2 separate regions of the Homo sapiens genome follow, and region 1 is linked to region 2. Evidence: promoter capture Hi-C in 16 types of primary human blood cells and fetal thymus (Javierre and others, 2016). All regions are on one chromosome and are shown on one strand. Each heading gives the region's core, a stretch centred on a gene start or on the middle of the fragment in contact. The rest is flanking DNA. Distances are from core to core; before and after follow the strand shown. Region 1 overlaps SAAL1 (serum amyloid A like 1). Region 2 holds the start of SERGEF (secretion regulating guanine nucleotide exchange factor).

Region 1 (5,762 bases), core at 653-3,152, 87 kb after region 2:
TCCAAAACCAGAATTTGTGTTTTCAAAATCATCAATAGAATAAAAATTCTGATCACAATGTAACTGTGGCAGCCTCATAACTTCTTCCTACAGAGTCTGCCACAGTGCCTAAAGGGGCGTAACACACAGGTGACATGTGAGTGGACATGTGGCCCCAAATGAGCCAAATCTCACCTAGGAATGTAAGACACAAAAGCTAAGTCAGTTTGCTTGGGGACCTGCAATGTAAAATATATAAATAAAATTAAGTCTCTGGCTGTCCACTGCTTCAGATTTTCACTAAATGTGAGGTGTGTATTTGAGAAGCCTTAACTTAAAATATAAGCTGCATGGCTTATGTGAAAATTAAGGGCCCTGGAACATCTCAAAGAGACAGGCAATTATTCTCCACAGCAAGTGAAACCAGTAACCTGCCAGACAACTGACTGAGAGAGACACACTCTACTTACTAAAGGACCATGGTCAGAGAAAATAGTATTTTCAAAGATACACTCTAAACTGAAAGTCATAATGGCAGATTCTCTTCACTGTAAGTGATCAAGCTGTCCTGTGGGCAATTCTTTGCCACATGCAGAAATTTTTAAATTTAATGGTAATTCCTGGAGTAGCACAAGGGTGGCCTAACAATATCAACACCAACAGTAATAAAATTAACATTCATTGAACAAGTATTAAATGCCAGGCACAGTGAAGTGGCTTGCATGCTATCTCATTTAATTCTCAAAACAACTCTATCAACTAGTTATCATTGTTAGCCCCATTACACTCATAAGCAAACTGAAGTTTAAAAAGTGTAGCAACCTGCCCAAGATTATACAGTCTCAGCAGAGCAAAGCTAGGATTTGAACCCATGAGTCTGATTTGAGCCTATGGTCTTGTTTTTTAAAAGAGATGGGGGTCTTGCTATCCTGTCCATACTGGAGCAGTGGCTATTCACAGATTCACAGGCATTATCATAGCTCACTGCAGCCTCCAACTACTGGGCTCAAGTGATCCTCCTGCCTCAGCCTCCCAAATAGCTGGGAATACAGGCAAGTACCCAGCGAGACTATGTTCTTAACCAGCACAACATGCTACCTCTCAGGTATTCATCTATTCATTCATTACTCCCCAAATATTTTCTGAAAAACCTAATAGGCACTGTTTTAGGTTCTGGGGATACATCAGTGAACAAGCTAAATAAGGGCTCAGTCCCATGGAATTTTCATTCTAAAGAAATGAACAAACAATAAATATAAAACAACTAAACTACACAATTTCTAAATGCTACAAAGAAAATAAGATATGTGCTAGAAACCAAGATAAAGCGGGCTACTTTAGACATGACATTGAAAAGAAGGCATTTCAGAAGGGGTGACATTATGCTTTGATGAGAAGGAATTTAAATCCATCAGAGGACACATGTAACAGAGTGAAGCAATTCTGTGGGAACACCAAAACAAGACAGGTTAATTCTGACTGGAGTGTCTGGGGTGGCATCACAGAGGAGGTGACATTGAAGCCGGGCCATAAACAATGAGAAGGATTTTGCCAGCTGGAAGCCATTCTAAGCAGAGCGGCATGAATAGTGCCCATGGACACGTGAAAGTGCAGGAAGTATCTGGAGGTCTCTGGTCCTCGCACACTGAATTCATGGTTACAGAACGATAGGCGACAAGACTGAGATATAAACTCACCAGACTTTGCGCCAGGGACCTCAATTGTCAGTGGAGAGCTCAGTTCTGAGTGGTGCCTCAAGGGCACCTCTTGTAAGGGAGCAAAAGGAGGCCAAAGAACATGACTTTGCCCTGCACCAATAACCTCCTTCAAACAGTAGCGCTGTTTTCTCAATTTTAAAACTGAGACTTTCACCCTAAGAGTTCATTTAAAACACAGGTTTTATTTCTTTTTAAAAAAATTTGTTTAACCATAATTTATCAATAATTGTAGAATAGAAAGTAGATCTGAACAATACTCTCAACCAACCTGATCTGACATTGAGAATAAGATATTCCACCCAGCAACAGCAGAACACACATGCTTTTTAAGTCAACATGGTAAATATTTCAGGTTTACTTAAAACCATATTCTGGGCTATAAAACAAATCTCAACACATTTAAAAGGATTCAGTGTTCACCAACCACAGCAAGAGAAAGATAACTGAAACATTCCCAAATATTTGAAACTTACCTATAAACCAAAGAAAAAGTAAAGAATATTAGAAAGTATTCTGAACTTCTGCGGGCATGGTGGCTCACGCCTGTAATCCCAGCACTTTGGGAGGCCGGGGCAGGGGGATCACTTGAGGCCAGGAGTTCAAGACCAGCCTGGCCAACATGGCAAAACCCCATCTCTACAAAAAATACAGAGCGAGACTCTGTCTCAAAAAAAATTGTAAACACAGCATATCAGAAATTGTGGAATACTGGTAAAGCATAAATATTTAGGGAAAATTCTATAGTGCTTGATGTCTATCTTTAAAAAGAAAAGATTTCAAACTATAAAGTATGTGGACAACTGATTTTTGACAAAGACACAAAAGCAATTAGTGGAGAAAGGATCGTCTTTTCAACAAATGAACTTGAACAATTAAATATCCATAAGCAAAAAAATAAACTTCATCCATCCTTGCACCATATACTATACAAAAATCAACTCAAAATGGATCACAGACTTATATGTAAAACCTAAAATTATAAAACTTTTAGAAGAAAATGTAAGAAAACAACACAATTAAAAAGCAGGCAGAAGATTCAAACAGGTACTTCACCAAAAAAGATACACAGAGTACAAATAAACACATGAAAAGATGCTCATCATTAGGAATTAAGGAAGTCCAAATTATAATCACAATGAGCTATCATTACATACTTATTAGCATGGCTAAAATTAAGAAGACTGACCATACTAAGTGTTGGTGAGGTTGAGGAGAAATTGGACCTGGAATTATGTCTCATACACTGCTTGTGGTTATGTAAAATGGTAAAAAACTGCTTAGGAAAACAAATTGAAAGTTTCTTAAAAAGTTAAGCATACACCTACCGTATGATCCAGCCATGCCACTTGATATATGGTCTGGCTCTGTGTCCCCTCCTAAATCTGACCTTGAATTGCAATCCCCATAATCCCCACGTATCAAGGGCAAGACTAGGTGGAGGTAAGTGAATCACGGGGGTGGTTTCCCCCATGCTGTTCTCATGATAATGAGTGAGTCTCATGAGATCTGATAGTTTTATAAGCGTCTGGCATTTCCCCTGCTCGCACTTCTCCTTCCTGCCACCGTGTGAATAAGGTGCCTGCTTCCCCTTCCCCTTCTGCCATGATTGTAAGTCTCCTGAGGCCTCCCCAGCCATACTGAACTGAGAGTCAATTAAACCTCTTTCCTTCATAAATTACCCAGTCTCAGGTATTTCCTTATAGCAGTATGAGAATGGACTAACACACCACTCTAGGTATTCACCCAAGGAAAAACAAAGTATATGTCCATACACACTTGTATACAAAAGTTCACAACAGCTTTATCTGTAATAAGCCTTAAACAACTCCAACATTCATCAACAGGTAAAAAATAAATTGTGGTATATACATATAATGGAATACCATTCAGCAATAAAAAAAAAAAAAAAAGCCACTGATATACACAACATGGATGAATCTCAAAATAATTATGCTGTATAAAAGAGCCAGACCAAAAAAAGCATATGAGCACATTCATATAAAACTCTAGAATACATACTAATCTGTAGTGACAGAAAGCAGATCAGTGGTTGCCTGGAGGGGATGGAGGAATGGAGAGGCAAGAGGAAGAGACTACCAAGGACCATAAAGAAACTTTCAGGGGTGATGGGTATGCGCTGTATCCTGATTACAGTGACAGCTTAATCTGCGTACACATCCGTCAAAGTTTATTGGCTGGGTGCGGTGACTCACTCCTATAATCCCAGCACTTTGGGAGGCCGAGGAGGATGGATCATTTGAGGTCAGCAGTTCAAGACCAGCCTCGCCAACAGGGTAAAACCCTGTCTCCACTAAAAATATAAAAATTCGCAGGGATTGGTGGCTCACACCTGTACTCCCAGCTACTCTGGACGCTATGGCAGGAGAATCACTTGAGCCCTCGAGGCGGAGATTGCAGTGAGCTGAGATCGCACCACTGTACTCCAGCCTAGGTGATAGAGACTCCATCTCAAAAAAAAAAAAAAAATCAATGTCAATGATACTTCAAAACAATATGCAGTTTTTTGGTGTTAATTATACCTCAATAAAGTTTTAAATAAAATGACTGAAACAATGAATAGCCATTGACAATTTTTAAGAAAATGAGTACAATTAAGTCTGTATTTCCGGAAAAAAAGGTAACACGGGTGGCAATGTAGAGGACAGAAGGGAGGTGAAAGAGACTAAAACAAGGATTTTAATCAGGAAGCTATTGCTAAAGTCCAGGTAATAAAACAAGAAAGATTACATAGGTCATTTAATGTCTTTTGGCCTCTATTTTCTTAACTGTAAAATAAGGGTACTACCTACATCACAGGGTTATTGTGAAGATCAAATAGAATACTATATATGAAAATGCTTTTGAGCTATAGAATAAAATACAGATATTAAAACACTATGATTAATACTGCAATTACAGACATATAATTATTTATTGTCCTTTCCTTCTAATATTATCATGGTATATCAGTGGTCTTCTAACTCCTAACCTGCTGTCAAATATATGGCCAGAGCTCTCTTTAGGTAGGTAAGTATCAGAACTTTCCCGGCCTACATGTGTATAGGAATACATTCATAAGAGCTACGTATTTAGTCCGAATCTGTTGAGAGCTCAAATCCTCCAGCCTCAAAGACAGAAGTTTAGCATTTATAGCCCCTGGGATCTCATTCCCTATATCATATATGGGTGTGATTACAGACAGGAGATAAAGCCTTTCCCCAGAGTGAAGGACTGAACCGTTTTTAAAACATTCATTCACCATCTCCTCACCCAACAGTCTTCAGAGTTTTGTTTCCAGCCTCATACCTCATCCATTGACATATCCCATACTCTGCAAATTTCATTCTCCATTTCTTCATCAAGCTCCGTCAGCTGCTCCTCATCATCTGAGCTAGATTTGGTGTTTTCAGGGCTAACAATCTTCAGAAACACAAAGAAAGAAAACATGAATAAAAGTTGTCTACAATACTAACCAGGTACCCAAATACAGCAGGTGATCAAATAACATTTCCTCGTAACGCTGATGAGAAAAAAATTTGATTCCTGGCCAGGGCCACTGTCTGTGTGGAGTTTGCATGTTCTCCCCAAGAGTGCATGAGTCTGTTCCAGGTACTTTAGTTTCCTCCTACATCCCCCAAATTTGCACATTAGCACAACGGGTATCTAAATGGTCCCAATCTGAGTGAGTGTGGGTGTGTGTGTACCTGTGATGGGATGGCATCCTGTCCAGGGCTGGTTTCTGCCTTGCACCTTGAACTGCTGGTACAGGCTCCAGCCACCCTCAACCCTGAACCAGAGCAAGTGGGTTGGGAAATGGATGAATACAAATTATTATAAAACAAAAATCTGTAAAGAAGACAATAACCATAGAGATGCGTGACAATAATTATGTGGTAGGAAAGTGCTCAGTAAGCCTGCCTTATTTGTTATTGTTTTTGGACTGTACAGTAGTAAGAGGTGATCATTTTTGCTTTGTAAACATTTATTCCTTGATTTAACACAATCAAAGAATAAAGGTTGTAGTGATAATCACTACAACCACCATCACTCACTAACTCACCAAAA
Region 2 (6,325 bases), core at 3,180-5,679:
GGAAAAGAGAGGCCATCTCCTAAATCAAGGTTCTTCTGACTGAGAACAAGACAGCCTCTTGAGGAGGAGGGGCTTCTCTTCTCTAGAGAGAGTTCTGGGCTACGAGTCGTTGGCAGGTGTATCTCGTATCTCTCCTTACCCCCTCCTCCTGCACCCATGCCACCTCACTGCTTTCCCTAGCTGAACTTCAGCCCCCAAATGAGAACACTATCCAGCGTGTTTCAAATAAATTATAAATATGGACACAGAATCCAAACAAAGTTCCAGGAGAAGCTGCTCACAGACCCCTACAGGGTCCAACCTGAAGAAAAATGAAGGTCATTCCTTTGTTATCTGTGTCTCTGGAGCTGTGGGCAAAACTGTCTCCCCTTGTCCTTGAGTAACCACGGGAACAGCTCAGGACAGAGAGAGTTTCAGACTTAGAAACACTCTTACCCCATCTCCTTTCTTCCCTCCTCAAATCCCTTCCCCAAAATCTGAAAAGAAAAATAATAATAATTCGCTCACCAGAAGGACTCTGGAGCATTTGGGAATGTAAATCTTACCCTTCCTTTGTCAAGTGGGAAACTGACCAAAGAGGAAATGACCTGTTAGGCTCATTCTTAACGGCTGTTATATGCTCCCATATTTAGATGGAGGCCCCATCCTCAGAACACCATGATTTCGATATGAGAAGAGTCCTAGGCATCCACAACTCAGCCAGTAATATTCCTCATCTTTCCCTTCTTATGCTCCAGCCCCCAGGTACTGCCTTTTGGAGACAGCACAGGGGTTCCTTCTGATAAAAGCTAACTACCTAGGGAAGCTAAGGAAAGAAAAAAATGAGAGAGAAATGGCATCAAAATGGGAGGGCAACATCCTGGAATTAGTTCTTGTTTCTCCTCCCCACACCCATGATGGGAAAACCAACAATGACTCTGGAATCAAAGCTGGCTAAGGATTTCTTGCCTTAAAGCAAGGCACGTCATTATTTCATTTGTACAGTGAAAGAGGCTGGCAATGATCTCTAAAGCCCTTTCCAAGTACAGTGCTATGTGACTCCAAGATTCACATGGTGAGATTCCAGTAAGGGGACAGATTTCCCCTTGACAGGCAATATGTCTATTATTATTATTATTATACAAAAAGGGTCCATAATCCCTAATCTGAAATGCTTACAGTCAGATGTATTTCAGATTCAGAATTTTACAGCTTTTAGAAAAGTAATACAGTACATATGTCATATATACTGATGCAAGGTCCAGGGACAGCAGCCCATAAGCAAAACAATAATATTTCTGCATTACAAAGTACAAATATTCATAAGAAGTGGCCAAAGACTATAAATGGCCTTATGTCCAGTAAGTTTTGGGTTTTCAGAGCTTTTTGTATTCAGAATTGAAGACAAGGGATTGTGGACCTGCAGAGAGAATCTTACTAAGATTTCAGAAATCTTTATAATTTATTCAAGTACCTACTCCTAGCTGGTTCTTCCTGGAGATGAGAAGTAAAATCTTTTAAATATGTTTGTTTTTGAAGACACCTGAATGAGGAAAGGTGATGTAAAATAATTACAACAAATACATATATACATACTTACATACATACATACATAATCCTTCCCCTTGTAGTCTATTTCACAGCCATCCTGGGCTGCAAGGACTCAAAGATGGAAGAGTAAGCCATAGCAGGGGCATAAGTCCCAGAAGCCCACAGGGGGCAATATTAGCTACCAATTACTGAGTGCTTCTCTCCATACTGTGCATTCACCTTTAATCCTCACAACAACTAAGAAGGACATTATTACTCCCATTTCACAGAGGAAGAAACTAAGGCTCAGAGAGGTTAAGTAACTTTCCATAGTTATATCTGGGTAGGCAAAAAGTCTGATGCCCTGCACCTTTTACTATACCTTACTGTGTCTCTTAGAAAAAATAAAAAAAGGACATACAGTGAAGCAGCCCAGAGCTTACCTGACAGGTGGTTAACTGTATGACTTTATCTAAAAGAGCATCCCCATATCACTCATTTTCTGCTTTATTTTTCTTCATGCCACTTCTTGATGTTACATTATATATGACTACTTGTTTACTGTACACCACCCCTGCCAGAAACTAAACTCCAGGAGGGCAGGAACTCTGCTTTGCTCACTGCTGTTTCCCCTGCATCTGAAACTGTGCTGGCCCAAAGAAGATGTACATATATTTATATGGCGAATGAATGTAAGACCCTATGAAAGACTTGCTCAGCATGAAGGGGAATATAGAGCATATATGCACAGGATTTCTTGGTCAGCCCTGAGATCTCCGTGGCTGTCCCATTACCAGGGGTGCAAGGCTGCTGAACACCTGGGAGAAAAGTAACATGACACATGGGCACTCTGAGGTTCAAATTACGGTACCAATTTTTGTAACACTGTGAGAGGCCCTAAATCCAGGATAAAGCAAGACGAAGGGAAATTTAACACAACCTATTACAACTGTTGTTTGCCTTTCTTCCTCACAAACACTCCAGACATATCACACGTGCACATGCACACATACACACACACACACACACACACACACACACCCCTAACAAGGTAAATCCCCTTCCTGTGAACCGAACTTTATTCCCCCAAAATTCACGTGTTGAAGCCCTAACCTTTAGTACCTTACTGTATTTGGAAAGAAGGCCTTTAAAGGGGCAATTAAGGTTAAATGAGGTCATAAGGGTGGGGCCCTAATCCAATATGACTGGTGTCCTTAAAAGAAGAGACACCACGGATGCTCACGCACACAGAAAAGGCCATGTGAGGACACAGTGAAAAAAGCCATGTGAGGACACAGTGAGAAGGCGGCCATCTGCAAGCCAGAGAGAGGCCTCGGGAGAAACCAAACCTACTCACACCTTGATCTTGGCCTTCTAGCCTCTGGAACTGTGAGAAAATAAATTTCTGTTGTTTAAGCCTCTGTTGTGTGGTATTTTGTTATGGTAGCCCTAGCCGACCAACACACCCCCACAGTTTCAGATTATACAGCAGGAAAAACACACTACCAGTCCTCCAAACACAGCAGAAGGGTGTCAACAACCTATTAAACATATTTTACAACCTTTAATATTCGGCTTTGTCTGTACTGAAACAATATTTCTGTTTCCTCTGTCCACACAGACGCCAGTCTCCTGCCTGGAAAAAGCCAGAGACAGCACACATTCAATCCCCAACTCCACCCCCAGCTCCCGGGCCACCTCAAAGACGCCCAGCCAGCCAGACTACCGCAGGTCACGCCATGCTCTCCCTCCTGCCAAATTGCAGCCCCACATTCAACAATTGCCGCCTTGTACTGATCATTACTTCTTTAAAAATTGGACAACTAATACTGATTTTAACAGCAATACAGGTTATAATTTTGCTCTCCCCCAACACAAGAGCTGGAAGTCCTTCACTCGTGTATTTCACTCATGTGTATTTCCCCAACACCAGCACATGGGTAGGCACACAGATGCTCGTTCATTCATTCGTCAACGAGTATTTACTGGGGACCTACAATGTGCCAGACACCAAGAGAGGCACCGTGAACAAGACAGGCACAGCACCCACTCTTACCACACTTACTTTCCAGCCAGAGAGACTGACGTTAATAATAAATTATACACATCATTACAATTGTGATACGTGCTATGAAGAAGCACAAGACGCAGCGACTGCTTGTTCCCGTGCATGCTGGTCGGCCACCTGCCACGCTCCTGTGCATGAACCCTCCTCTCTCCCAGACACACATCAAGATGACCCTGTCTCTCCCAATGCTCCCGTCAAACCAACAGCAGCCCAACTCCCCCAACACATGCAAGAACCGGTCACAGCAGAGTGTCAGCAAATAGGCAGGGTCTGTGCCTTGTGCGCGGCCAAACACCGCAGGCCTCACATCTAAAGGATGCTTTCGCCAGGCTGGGACAGGGTCTCCCTCCTCCAGGCATCAGGAGTGTGGGGGGCACAGGTGGCCCCACGGAGCTCTGGGACCGGGCGATCCTCTCCACCGAGCCCTCCGCGCTGTCTTCCAGGCGCTATTCGGGCTGGAGGGCTCTCGCGGAACCAGACGCTCTGCCCCGAGGCAGGTTCTTCCCGCGGCGCCACAGCCCCTCCGGCCCTGACCCCGCCAGCCGGCAGGCCCCTAAGTCGACCGCGAAGACCCTTCCTTCCCCGCCCGCCCGCTCCTCCTCCGCTCCCCCTCCGCTCCCAGCCCAGGATCCTTCAACCCAGAGCCCGGCTCGGACCTCAGCCGCCCAGCCCCTGAACTGCCCACGCCGCGGCCAGCAGCTCCCACATCTCGGCGCCCCTCAGGGCCTGCACCGGCCCGGGGGCGGAGTCACGTACCCAGGCGAAGAGCGCGGCCGCCGCGGGGGCGGCCTCCGAGGCGCTGGGCTCGCGCTCCATGCGAGGACGCTCCGCCGGCGCTTCCGGGAGGGACGGCACGGGGGCGGCGCCTGCCGGGGGTAGGTGAGCGCCGGAGCCGGACCGGGGACGCGTGATGGGTAGGGCGCGGGGCGGGGTCTGTGGTGGGAAGCGGCCCGCAGGCCGGGAGAGAGGGTGCGGCCGGGCCCTCGGGCCACTGGGGATCAGTGGTGGGCGGGGCCGGACGACAGCCCCGGAGCCGCCTCCCAGTCAGCCCGCCCCGGCGGCGCTCGCAGCGTCTCCGCCCGCAGCCTCCTGTCTCGCTGGGCCTCTCAGCCTCTCGCTCCTACCCCCTCGTACTCTTTATTTTTAGTCATAATTTCATGTTTCATGCAGGTGCACTGCGCGCCACAGTTCACAAAGCTCCTTCGCGTTTTTGTCTCCTTGGAGGCCCACGACAGCCCAGAGGGGCTGACAGGGCAGCGATGGCATCACCATTTGCGGGAACAGGAAATGGAGCCTGAGGGGTAGGGCAGGGTCCTGCCCGGCGTCTCAGGCGCAATTGTCTTGAGCCCGCTTTGGTGTGCGTTCGCAAACATCTGAGGGGGCGCCTTGGGAGGCGAGTGGAGTGGCACGTCGCCGGTGTCGCCCTCTGCACCTGGCACGGAGCGGGAACCCGCGCCTCGCGACGCTGAATGGGGGAGGCTGGTTAGCGTCGACTCCTGCCGGGGCAGCCTCGGCGCTCCGGGCACGGCCCTGAGCTCATTCTATTAATAATACTGGATAATCGTCACCCAACGAACATTTCCATATAAAATGGCTTTTCTCAGACAGCGTCGTGTTGCTGATGGGAGTTAATTAAGTTCAATTTATCTGAAGGAAAATATGGCACCGCGTACCGGGAATACAGAACACATAGGGTCACATTAAAGATGATCATCCACATTCACATTCGGTAGCACTTGGCCCCTCTGCTGACACGGGCCTCCAGCACTCACTGCCCTTCACCCCTGGGCTTCTGGGAAGTGTCTCCAATGAGCTCTTACACTGTCCTTTCCTGTTCTTTCACTCCATCCACTTTTAGGAGTTTCTGCCTGTAAGACCACTTGAGGGCAGCCCCTCACCTTTATCTCTCCAACCTGTGGCATCTGGAGAACGTCGATGACCATACCAAGAAAAAAGCAAACTTTGGAGAGATAAAACAGCTCTTCATTCTCTAGGGATCTGAATGTGCAGGAGCTATACCATGCTTACTGACTGTCTTATGAGTGGGCTTTTTTGTGCTGACCATTTCTTTGAAGCATGTGTAACAGGATGTAAAAATGGGATCCTTCACCGCTCAGTTTTGGCTGAGCAACAAGTGCCAGTTACTCCTATATCATAAAGTAAGGTTCAAGACCACCAAAGCAGGTCTTGCAAAGCAACTGTCTAGAAACCAGTGTATGACTTTCAGTCTACGAAAAAGGTTGAGAGGCCAGAGAGAATTCTAGTAGGATATGTGGCCACAATTATCAATGTGGTGTGGGTCTCAACCCATCTCAGGTCTAAGGAAAGTTACTTTACCTGGGTCCCTGAGAGAGCTTGGTATGCATCCCTCTAGATTTAGGACCCAGACAGGCTTCTGTCCAATCCGTTCTGAGAAATACAAGGGCTTGTGGCTGGATATCTGCTCTAATAGCTGAGCAAAGACAAACTGATGCTTTGGGGAGGTCTTTCACACCCACAGTTTTTCAAAATAAAAACTGTCCATTTCCCATGTGAGTATTTCCCATACCTGAGCAAACTGGCTGGGGGATGGTCTTAGACCTTGTCCAAGAGAATTTCTGGAAGGGTGAAGTGACACCCACAGGACAGTCGATCACTAGATTCCTTGAGGGTGAGGGAAATGAATTTAACAGCCCAGAGAGATACATTTACCTACATCAAGAAATCCCAAGAAATAAGAAGGTGGGAAGGTCTTCCAAAATGCCCACA

The links. The method cuts DNA at HindIII sites, captures the fragments that hold promoters and counts their contacts. A CHiCAGO score of 5 or more calls a contact.
Region 1: a contact is called between a fragment that was not itself captured here and the fragment with the promoter of SERGEF in region 2, in 2 of 17 cell types (naive CD4 T cells and naive CD8 T cells). The highest score is 6.5, in naive CD4 T cells.

Annotation. Positions count from the first base shown.
Region 1 is chr11:18,098,230-18,103,991 of GRCh38, forward strand. It overlaps SAAL1 (serum amyloid A like 1), which reads right to left. Exons shown (of 12, transcript NM_138421.3): 2 at 5,004-5,117. Among named protein-coding and RNA genes, the nearest start is that of SAAL1, 5.0 kb to the right of the region's middle. The HindIII fragment of the contact is 8,611 bases long and covers 1-5,762 here.
Region 2 is chr11:18,008,618-18,014,942 of GRCh38, forward strand. SERGEF (secretion regulating guanine nucleotide exchange factor) reads right to left here and starts at 4,430. Exons shown (of 11, transcript NM_012139.4): 1 at 4,334-4,430. The coding sequence starts at 4,393. RefSeq lists silencers at 1,687-1,746, 4,098-4,717 and enhancers at 2,705-3,222, 3,223-3,739, 5,098-5,147. The HindIII fragment of the contact is 12,002 bases long and covers 1-6,325 here.